Regions from separate parts of the Homo sapiens genome. Here region 2 is linked to region 1. Evidence: promoter capture Hi-C in 16 types of primary human blood cells and fetal thymus (Javierre and others, 2016). All regions are on one chromosome and are shown on one strand. The core of a region is centred on a gene start or on the middle of the fragment in contact, and the rest is flanking DNA. Distances in the headings are between cores, read along the strand shown. Region 1 holds the start of KLF15 (KLF transcription factor 15). Region 2 has its middle 19 kb from the start of ROPN1B.

Region 1 (5,901 bases), core at 493-2,992:
TCACTCCAAGGCCATATCCCAGAGTCTAAAACAGGACCGGGCAAAATTTGCTGAATGAGTGAATGGAAGGTGCGGGGGAGAGCGGGGGAGGTCGGAGAGTAGGAATGGGTGGCCCAGGTCAGCCAACAGGGTCTTAATGCTGGGCTGAACGTCCCAAGGGGGAAGCACCCAGGCACTGACAACCCAGAAAGGGCTCTGGGATGTCCCAGGGCACCGGCATTAAAGAGAGGACACTCTAGGGCTGGAGCTGGCTCGGCCCCTGAAACACAGCAGCACGTGGGGCGGCCAGAGGCGCAGGCTGCGTGCAGGGGGAGGGGACACGCTGTTCCGGGCACAGTCCCCGGCTGGCCGCCGGACTCCGCCCCCTCCCCTGGCCCGGCCAGGCCTGCTGTTTATCCTCCCGGGGACACAGCGGCTGCAGGAACAACATGTAATTGATAACAAGCCCAGCGCCGGCCAAGGGCTTGCCATTGGGTCAGCGTGCAAATCACGGGGGTGGCGGCGGGGGCTGTCCTTCAAAATAAGAGTCTCCGGTCCCTGAGCCGCCCGCAGGCCCCAAAGTCGCAGAGTCCGGGCGTCCTCACACCTGTAGGGCGGCAGGGTCTCCCCAGGGGCCACCTGGTCCGGGGGGACAGGGGGAAGGAGATTTGAGGCTCTCAAACAATTGTTGATTTTGTCACCTCCGAGGGCCGTGGGAGAAAACAGCCCCTCTGTGCCCTCCGTGAGAGGGGGGTTCCATGAGTAACACCAAGGCGGGGAGGGAAGAGTGAACCGGACCACCATATGGGATGGGGACGGCCTCTCTGCCCCGCCGCCGCCATCCCTCGGTCAGGCCATGGCTTTGGTAATGTTCGGTCTGAGCGGACGGGGACTCAGCGTGGAGTGAGACGCGTGAACGGTGCGGGTGTGCGTGAAGGGGTGTGAGTTCCTGTCGTGTGACTGCGTGTGCGGGGCGTGGTGCGCGGCAGCCGCTGTGGCTGTGCGGGAGGCTGTCCGCGAAGGACTCGCGCGTGGAGCCGCCGTGGGTGCCGGCGGGTGAGGGGAAACGTGCGTGGGAAATGAAGAGAGCCGGCTCAGACCCCTTCTAGAGTCCTGGACCGCTGCCCGCTGGGCACCATGCCCTCGTCCCACGCCCCCCCCTTGCCCCCGACACTGCTGCGGTGACCGACAGTAACCCCTCCGTCTCCAGCCCCTCCGCCCCCCAACCCCGGGCTGGCCAGCGCGTCCGCTCTCCCCCTCCTCTCACCAGGCCGCGCCGGTGCCCACCATATGGGAGGGCCGGCCCGCAAGGCGCGCCACGGAATCGCCCGGCCAGGCACCGAGGCGGCGGCGCGGGCCTCAGCAAAGTGCTGGTGGGCGACCGGGGCGGGGGGGGTCACCTCCCCCGGGCCAGTCCGACCCCTGCCCACCTCCGCGGGGGCCCATCCCGCTCCTCCGACATTCCTCCAGCACTCGCGCGGTGCCTCCGAGAGCTGCGCGGGAGCACGGCCACGCGCCCCGAGGCCGGCCAGCCCTCTGATCACCCGGGGCCGCGTCCACGCGGCCGGCCGGCCCCGCCGCGCCTCTCCCACCTGAACTTGGCGCACGCCGGACCGGCGGCCAGGCCCCGGCGGTCCTGCGGCCGGGCGGGCTGGGCTGGGGGCGGCGGCTAGACTCTCGGTCCGGCGGCGGCCGGGGGCCGAGCCGCGGGTCCTGCGCTGGCTCGATCGCCCGCCGGCCCGCGGGTCGCTGCGGCGGAGCACTAGCCCGCCCGCAGCTCGCTGGGCACTCACTCCCCGCCGCTCACGTGACGCAGCGGGCGCCGCGAAGGCTCGCAGGAGGCTCGGCCCCGGGCGCGCGCCCCATTGGCCCGCGCTGCGCGTCACACGTCCCGCCCCGCCCTGGCCCCGCCCTGGCCCCGCCCCGGCCCGCCCGCGCGGCTCCCGGACTTGAGCGGCGGATGCTCGGGGATCCCGGAGCTGCCAGACGCGCACGCCCCCCAACACGCTGCCTGGTCCCTGGCCCGCAGCCACCTCCTTGCTTCCCACCTCTCGCCGCTGTCTCGCGGCGTCCACGAGGGCCGGCTTCTAAAGCTCGGTTCCCAAGGTGAGAACGTGAGACTGGCCTGAAGACTTAAGAAAAGCTCTGAGATCGCCCCAAAGTGCAGTCTGCGTGATTGAGCGGGAAGCGCTGGGGAGCCTGTCTGGCCCGGTCTGGCCCACGTCCCCACCTTCATCCCCAGCGCGGTACAAGCAGCTCTGTCCCCCGCTGAGTGTCAGATAAATCACTTGCCTAGAAGGACGTATTTTTGGATAAATACGGTATTGGGCTTTCAGCAGGACAATCAGTTACCCTCCGGAAATTGCGCGCGCTCTGCGCTGCCACCCTGCCCTCCAGGACTAAGGAGGTTTGCTGACCGGCCCCCCCCCCCCCCACCTGAAACCAATGACACCTTGTCTCTGGGGCACCTTTCTGAAGACCAAACAATGCTTCGCAGTCTACAAAAGCGTTCGTAGACTGCTTTAGTCCGCAGCAATCCTGGCTCGCATTTGGGTTCCCGCTTAGAGACAGGAAGAGTAAGGCTCAGAGTGGCTTGCCCAAGAAAAACACGTGGGCTGACGGTGCTAGGCACCCTGCTGTGCCCTTTAATCCACACTCCAGCTGGATCCTCAGCCAAGCACTTTACAGATGAAGAAACCGACTCAGAGAGGGCACCAGCCCTCCCCAGCCCCACAGCTGGGAAGGAGCAGGTAGAGAGGTAGAGCCAGGTCATCTTGCAGACACCCCCAGGCCACCTGTGCAGAGCTGTCCTACTGAGCTTCCTTCCTCTCCCCTCCTGGCACTGGGAGGTGGGGAGCATTTTCTCCTGCTTCTTCTTGAAGACATTGCTAGAACAGGAATTTTTAACCATACCCTTTCCAGGCTCTCTGGAATGCTATAGGTCTAGGCTTGCTTGACCAGGGATCTGGGGACACTGTGCACCAGGTCAGTGCCAGGGATTCAGCTGCTGCTGCCACTAGGAGCCAAACCAATGCGTTGCCAGAGGGCTTTAAGGACATTTGTGTTGAGGATGGTGAGAGGCTTTCTAGTTCACAGAAGTTGGAATGACCACTCTGGCATTACAGCAGCCCTGGCTAGCCTGGGCAGAACAGTGGAATTTGTCCATTTTCATAAGAGAAGAGATAGAGGCCTGTATTCCTCATTTTGTCTCAGTGCAGGTCTGGATTGGGCATAGCCACAGCACTTCTCCATCTGCCCTGCCCGCCCTCGGTCTTCACTCCTCACATACTCTCAGTCTAGTGCCTCCCATCTCCTTGGTGAAAGCTGCAGCAAAAGGTCAGAAAAAGCTTGGAAGCAAAGACACATCGTTAGCACCTTCAGCACACAGGGAGGAGGCCCCACTGGCTAGAAACTGGAGAACAGCCAAGATGGTCCTGTTAAAACCTGAGTCAGATCAGGTCCCTTCTGGGTTCAGAAGCTTCCAGCAGCTCCCAACTCACTCAGAGTAAGTAAAGCCCAAGTTTTCACCACAATCTTTAATGCCCTACAGCTAGGTACAGCATTTACCCCAAACCATATCTAAGGAGAAAAGCTCCCTCAATATAGTGGGGAGAATCTATCATTGAGATTCCTTGGCAGAAAGGAGAGAACAAAGTCAGGTGGTGCTCTTCAAAACAGATGACCAAAAACAGTAAAGATTTATCTTCATAGCAGTGAAAATCTCTAAGTTTCTTTTCTTCCAAAGCAATTCCTTCCCTACTTCTACATAATCAAGTATAGAAAAGGGCCTTGGAAGGATATAAATTATATTGGTTAAATATTGTATGACCTTGCCTATAAAACCATTTGGGCCTGGTGCCTTTTTGGAGTGATCTTTCTCCATGCTTGAATTTCACACATTTTACCAGGATATGTCTGACTCTAGCCTCCTTCTGTTTTCATTGTTACTACTCTATGCTTGGTGTATCCTTTTAATCTGGAAACTCAAGTCTTTCTTCGTTCAGGGAAACGTTCTTCTATTGTCTCTTGTTTCCCCCTAAACAGCTGCATGGATTGCTCCATCGCATACTCAGGTCTCTGCTCAGATGCCACCTTATCCCAGACACCTTCCTCACCCATCCCGTCTAAAACAGCACATCTGCTGCCCTCAGTTTCCTGGCCTCTGTTTATTTTGCTTCATGATCCTGATCTTTATATTATTTATTGATTTGTTTCTTGCCTGTCTCTCCTATCAGGAGACAAGCTCCTTAAGAGCATGGACTTGTATTTTTTTATTCACTGCTGTATCCCCAGAACCTAGAACACTTCTGAAACATGTTGAGGAAATGAGATTTTCTTCTTGCCCCAGTAAAGCTGCCAATGGATATGGGATCTTTGGAGAAGCTCTTCAAGGTCTGGTGCTCTCTTCCACAGTACTGTAGCCACCAATCTTGTCCTCATCCCCTGTTCCACACACATACCTGAGACTTCCAGCCTCCCCACTAGCTCATGCCTGCCCGGGGGTCTGAGCCCAGCCTGCCCTCTTCCAGGAAGCATTTTGAGGGCCCCATTCAGTGGCTCAATGGTCTGTGCACAAAGGGCCCACTGTGGCCATCAAGCCCTGTGACCTCCCACAGTGACTGACTTCTCCTCACCCTTCCCAGGTGGGAAGCAACAATTCCCCCTACTCTCAGCTCCCCTGTCCCCAGCCATGCTTCAAGGGTCTCTGGCCAGAGTCCCTTACCTTCTCACCACCTCTTCCTCTAAGGGCTGGGGTGCTGAAGAGATCCTACCCATTCTGGGCTCAGGAAGTGGTTTTGAGCTGGAGGCTAGGGAATAGGCAGGCAGAAGGGCTGCTGGTGCCCAGGGGCCAGGAAAAACATGCTGCAGGAGGTTCCTCAGGCTGGGCTGGACCGTTTCCCCACCAAGCAGACCCCTGGTGCTGTGTAGACAAGAGGTCAGGTCTGTTCTGACACCAGGCGACTCAGATGAGGGCCCACTCCTCTCTCATGACCAGTGTTGTCCCCACCCCCAGCCCCCCAGCCCTGAGCACACCTAGCTTTGAGGAACATCAGCCCAGGGACCTGGGGACCTGGTGGTCCAAGAAGACACAGAGAAGGGCTGAGTCCTGAGAGCCTCTGCCCTGAGAGCCTCTGCCCCTGGCTCTGAGCATTGGCAAAGCCCCAGGTATACCCCTGCCCGGAGGATCCAGAAGCAGCAGGGGCTGAGGTGGGATGAGAGCTCCAGCTTCCCCTGGTCCATGGACACATCAGTGTGGTGCTGGGGTCAGAGGGCTCCTCAGCTTCCCCTCATCCCCGTCTCTGCCATGAGTTGTGGTCTCTCTGACACCTGACAGATTTCCAGGCAGGCAGGCAGCCTGAACCCCAGCCTAGTGGGGCTGTACATGCGTGGCAGCCTGGACTCTGGTTCTTTCACACAGTCCCTCACTGCTGAGTGGCCTTGGGCAAATCAGTTTGTCTCTCAGAGCCTCAGTTTCCTCATCTATAAAATGGGTGCTCAGACCCCTATCCTACTTACCTCAAAAGGTTGTTTGAAGATAACCAAAGTAAGAGATGGGAAAAGGCATTGGAAAGTACAGAGATTCATTACAGGCTGTTACCATTCCTTCTGATATGTATTCACTGCTCCTGGACAGCCGTCCTGCCAGTGCCGAGCATTGCTGCGGAGATGAGATGCCACTCACACTGCCAGGGCCTCCTGAGATCCCAGTGCAGTGTAGGGGGCCCAGCAGGATGACGGTGGTGCAGGTGATAAGGACGAGTGTGAAGGGGGCTATGGACGCCACCCTGGGGAGACGCACTGGGAGCAGCAAGGAGCAGCACCAAGGAGCAGGAAGAGACCACAGAGCAGGGCAGGTTAGCTCTAGGGAATGGGAGTGGCCGCCACTCCAGGCTCTCTCATGGAAGGGTGTACCAAGCCCGG
Region 2 (5,830 bases), core at 1,444-3,943, 370 kb before region 1:
GTCTTGGTAGCCTTGAACATAATCCCTCAAGAGTGAGGCTAATGAAATTCCAACGACCCAAGTGTATACTAGACACAGACATGAAGTTATTGGTGCTGTAGCTATCCGTGCTTACTGAGACTAAGCACAATTGGCAATACCATTGTTCACTGCCAATTGCTCATCTTTTGAGCCACCACTTGGTGTGCACCACCTTCCTCCTCTCCTGCCCTGGCTCACTGGGGCAATGCTTGCTCTAAGCTATTGATATTGCTATGCCACAGCTGCTCACTAGGGACACAGTATCTACAGCACATCTGCCAAATCAACCTGCTTCTGCAGTCACCCCAAGGATGGAAAACAGCTTTGTGCTTTGCCCTCTACCTGGGCTATGCTGTATTAACAATATTATAAATACTGTATTAATGATAATACCCAACATTTATTAAGCACTTACCATGTGTAAGCCACTGTGTACACGGCTTTATACATTCTCAAATTTTTCCTTACAATATGACCTTATGAGGTCAGTGTCATTATCTCTAACAAACAATCTTAGATAAATTAAGTTGTTCAATGTCACTGGTGAGAAAGAATTTGAATCCAGATCTGACTCCAAACCTATGATGCCTTGTATATATCCTCAGTGCCTGTCTAGGTATGGGATTCCTCCCACCCCCAGCCTGAAATAATCCCTGAGACAGAGATTTACATGCAAATAGTTTCTTTAGGAGGCGATCCCAGGAACAGGGAATAGGGATAGGAAAAGTAAGATATTATAGTGATGGGAAGAAAGCTAATAAATGGTGTGTTATCCAGCCAGTTACCCCTGTACTCCAATACTGCTGGGGAACTCTGGGAGACAGCATAGAACACATCTCAGAGTTATCCCAATCGAAGGGTGAGGAAGCTCTTCATCCATCACTGGATAATCCCCACCTGTCGTTGACTGAGGGCTTCTTCCAGGTGAATTAATGTTCTGCCTTTCCAGCTTGCCTCAGCTTGCTTCTTTTGCTCCAGGAAAAAGGCTCTCGGCCAGGAAGTCATAGATGATCACAATAAGAAGCCACCTGCATCTGCTACACTGCCTTACAGATATTTTAATACAACAAAGTTTTAACATTTTTTAATCACTATTAATGTTTCTTTCTTTGGGTCACGCAGAAGTCTTCAGGGTCTGCAGGGCAATAAGTGACCATCATTGTGCTGTATTAAAATTCACAACTGACTCACAAACATGACACATTGTCCCCAACCATTTCTTCCTTGTGATGGGATCATTCCAAAGGGGGTCCCTTGATTCTTGCTGCCAACAGATCCTTGTCAGACCCATCCCACTGGCTTTCCTATCATAATCAGCAATATCTATACAGTCCTAGCATGACCCCAGTTAAACTGTCAAACGAAGGCCCTTGCAACGTATGGTTTGTATTTCTCCTTTAAAAAAAATTTCAGGAAGCAATAAAATCAGGATTTTATAAAGCAAAAACAGTGGGCTCTTTCTTTCCTAAATTAAGCTATTTTGATTAAAGTGAAGACTGCAGATATATAAGCTTCAGTGGGAAATGCAAAGATTATGGCCCAATTCCATTTTCTCTATGCTCCATGCCCTTCCTCTCCTTGATGCTATTCCATCAGGGACCTACCATCCCTAGTTAACCAACTACTTCCAGGATCACCAGGGCCCTGCAACAGAAGGAGCTGGACACCCCAATGTGGAAGGCTGGTTTTGAATTAGGTTAGAATAGGAATCTTAACCTGAAATCCTTGGAGAGGCTCCTGAGTGCCTCTGATAACATTATATATGTAACCATGTCTCCAAAATGTGCTCATTAGCATTTTTCTGAAGAAAAAATTATAAGGCTTTGAGCAATTTCTCAAAGTTGTATATTATCTCAAAAGGCCAAGAACCTTTGGGTTCAAAATAGCCCCAGAGAGCACTAAATGGCTTGAGGAAAGACAACAGCACAGTCTCTCAGATCTTTCCAAGCAGAACTGAGCTCACGCTCCCAACATGTGACTTCTTATCCACAGCCTCTTACTTTTTGAATCTTAGATCCTGGCCATAAATCGGTGTTTTTAGTTTAGATCTTCATATACTTTCAACTTTGGTCATTTCCTATAAACTGGAACATGGTCAAACCTGAACAGAGACTTTCACACTTCAGAGGTGAGCCAATTGGCAAAGTAATTGGTTCAATGTGCTGAATTATGAAAGACTGGATAGACAAGCAGAGTTGTGTATCCATGATACTAGAAGGACTAAACCTCCGGACCAAGCTCAAAGGGCTAGTCCTGGATAATCCCGAGCCTCGGACATTCAAGTAGCTGTCAGCCCCAATGCACCAAAGCAGTCCAAACAATAGTTGATTCATTGGTTTATTCAACAAATAATTCAGAAATTCCTACAAGTGCAAGGATTGTGCTAGGCACTGGGGATACTGCTCTGAACAAGGTGAAGTCCCTGCTTTTAGAGAGATTAAATTATACTTAGGAAGACAGACATTACATAACTAAACACAAGTTTATAATTGTGAGAAACGATGCTACTACGTAGAAGCATGGGGCACACAGCTAGTTTGCAGGGGCAGGATAGAGAAGCTTTCTTGAGGAAGTAATTTGAGAGCAAGTTCGGAAGCCACAGGCAACTCAGAAAGGTGTATTTGCAGCCCACACATCTTTGCCACGCTCCAGACTCAACTATACAGTAGCTAACTTGACATCTTTTCTTGGATGACGCCAAAGTACTCCCTAATTTAACAAATCCAAAAATGACTTTCCTGGTTTGCATTTTTTTCATAATAAAATGTTGGAGAGAAATGAGTTCATAAGCTTCCTTACTAAATGTGGACCTCTCCCACCATCTGCCAAGATACAAAACCCAGAAACCAGGGTCAACAAATACCTCCCCCTGCCTTACTTTCCAACTCTATCACCAAGTCCTCTCCATTTTATCTCCTATGCATCTCTCAAATATGTCCTCTTCACTTTCCCTCACCACCACCTCCCTTAGGTCCCCTCATCCCCTCCCAGCAACCAATATATTTCATCTGGACTTTCTATCAATCTGGTCCTCAAAGGGAACAGAAGACAATCTAGAGTTTTGAAGATAATTAAAAGTTTTACAGAATGGACAAGGAAAACAACAAGGGGGTTGAGGCACCCAGGGACTAGCAAACCGTTATCATCCCTAAGACTGAAGAGACAAAGAGAAGGACATGTTATTACAGTGTGAGAAGACTGGAGCTCCAGGGGCTCCCCTGATGATGCAGAGGGCCAGTGCATCAGCCAAATGGTGCTGAGATAGCAGGAATATCCCATTCTCTCCCTCTTCTATCGACTAAACAGAACCTGAAGCTGGAGGGCATGTCTGACTGATGTCGGTCCAAGGGGAGGACAGAGAATGGATGCAGGAGGAGAGAACTTGCTCACACCCATACTTGCCTTTCCCTCAAGCATCCTCTATGCTAGTGATCAGCAAACTTCTGTAAAGGCACAGATAGTAAATATCTTAGGCTTGGCCGGCTAGGTGGTCTCTATCACAAATACTCAACTTTGGCAGTTGTAGCACAGATAATGTGTAAACACATTAGTGTGACTGTGTTCCAATAAAACTTTATAACACTGAGATGATTTTCAGGTAACTTTTCACATCACAAAATATTATTCCTTTCACTTAAAAAAAACTACTTGAAAATGTGAAAATTGTTCTCAGGCTGTATCCAAGAATGGCAGACTGAATTTAGCCAGGGACTGTAGATTTCAGATTCCTGCTCTACACTACAGCCATGGATCTTTGTAAAACCCCAGTCAGTTCACTGTGCCCCCTGCTTGAACTTTTACATATTCCCAATGGCCTTAGGATAATAAGCCAAATCATGTAGCCTATGAGGACTGTATAGTCTGGCCCTACATACATTTCCATCCCCACTGTCTATACTTCAGCAGCAAGAGCCTCTCTGGGTTTCTCTTTCTCAGCATCATGCTGTCTCCACATCTTTAGAATACTCTGCTCTCCACTCTCTAGTTCATTTGCAGATCTCAGCTCACTGCAACATTATTTATAATAGCAAATAACAAAATGAAAAGTGGGGTGGGGGCATAACATTCCCAACACTAGGGAAATGAATCATGGAACACCAGGCAGCCATTTTATAACTGTAGATTAATGAGAAACAATGTTGATTAGATATTAAGAGAAAACACTCATGTTACAGTAATACCTATTATTTCATATTGTTGTAATACATTTATACATATATACGTAGGTGGAAAAAATCTTGAAGGGAATGCACCAAGCTGTTCAGAGTGATAACTCACGGGCAATGGGGTTATGGGTGGTCTTTTCCTTTTTTGCTTATCTATATTTTCTAAAATAAACATGTATTAAGAAAAGTCAACATGAATTTTTAAAAACCAACAACTAAAAAAAAACCCCTTAATTTCAGGTGAATATGTTAGAAAGTTATGAAGTTATGTGAGGGCTGGGGAAGGAAAGGAGAGGTTTTCACAGTTTGATCTAATTCAAAACTAAATCTGTGAAATACTCAAGTTTCCTAAAATCACTCAGGATAAGTGTGTGATATATTGGTGGACATATTTTAGTTCCTGGGCTTTGACATTAATTGTAACAGATTTTTAAAGGGTAGCTCTTTTCTCCATTAAAAAGAAACGAGGCTGGGCATCGTGGCTCACGCCTGTAATCCCAGCACTTTGGGAGGCCAAAGTGGGCAGATCACCTGAGGTCAGGAGTTCGAGACCAGACTGGCCAACATGGTGAAACCCCGTCTCTACTAAAAATACAAAAATTAGCCGCCTGTGGTGGAGCGCATCTGTAATCCCAGCTCCTCAGGAGGCTGAGGCAGGAGAATCCCGCTGGAAACCGGGAGGCGAAGGTTGCATTGAGCTGCGATGGCACCACAGCACTCCAGCCTGGGCGACAGTTGAAATGGAATCAACTGAGTTCTCCCTCTTCAACTTGATTTAAATCATCAACCCAAAACCCAATTCCTAAACCCCAAAACCAATGACTAAAATCCTCATTAAAATGAGTGCACATGCCAATACTAAGAATGTTGTGTCATTCTTCATCAAAAGTAATTACCTCAACACAAGAGGAGACAAGTACGCATGGAAGTAAACCCAAAATCCCAACTAACGAGCATCGTTCTGAGATCAGTGGCCACAGGGAATAATTCTGAAATTGGCATCACATCTACGCAAGATAACAACCTGGAGGTCTTATTTTTATAGAATATCAAGAACAAAATCATCCAAAAGGCACACGATGCCAAACTAAAAATAAAGAGCGAAAATCCAAAAAGTTGCGCGCAATTCCTTCTGAAACCTATCCGCCTCCTACTCCTGTCCCTTCCTCTGGCGCTGGCGGGTCCTCGTCCCGAACCCCCACCGCAAGCCCTGGAACGGCTTCTTAACCCTTTTCTCGGCGGCTCCGCCCCGGCCCCGCCCCAGCCATGCCTCGCCCCCGCCCCGTTTGCCGGCTATTGGCTTCTCCCATCCCCTACCAGAGGGTGACGAGACGGGAAGCCGGGAAGCCGGGAGGGATCTACTGTGCACGTCCAAGGCGCTGGGCCTAGAGCAGGAGAAAGGGTTTGGAGGTGCGTCGGAGACTATGAAGTGCGGCCTTCGGCGTGATCCTTTCCGGAAGCGGAAGCTCGGGGGGCGGGCCAAGAAGGTCCGGGAGCCCACGGCGGTTGTTTTTTCTGTGAGGCTTCACTTACCTCGGTCTGGGCTTCTCTGAGGCTGCGAGAGATGGTCATGTCCGGATCTCAACTGGGCCGGGTGAGGGCTGAGGACCTGAGGAGTCCACTGTGGGGATGGAGAGGGACAG

The links. Contacts are between HindIII fragments. The CHiCAGO score rates a contact against its expected background, and 5 or more counts as called.
Region 2: a fragment that was not itself captured here is called in contact with the fragment with the promoter of KLF15 in region 1 in 1 of 17 cell types (total B cells); the score reaches 5.1 in total B cells.

What each region holds. Positions count from the first base shown.
Region 1 is chr3:126,355,666-126,361,566 of GRCh38, forward strand. KLF15 (KLF transcription factor 15) reads right to left here and starts at 1,743. Exons shown (of 3, transcript NM_014079.4): 1 at 1,572-1,743. RefSeq lists enhancers at 285-1,044, 1,045-1,804 and a silencer at 1,703-1,922. The HindIII fragment of the contact is 4,432 bases long and covers 1-3,324 here.
Region 2 is chr3:125,984,918-125,990,747 of GRCh38, forward strand. It overlaps the pseudogene ALG1L1P. Among named protein-coding and RNA genes, the nearest start is that of ROPN1B, 19 kb to the left of the region's middle. The HindIII fragment of the contact is 231 bases long and covers 2,579-2,809 here.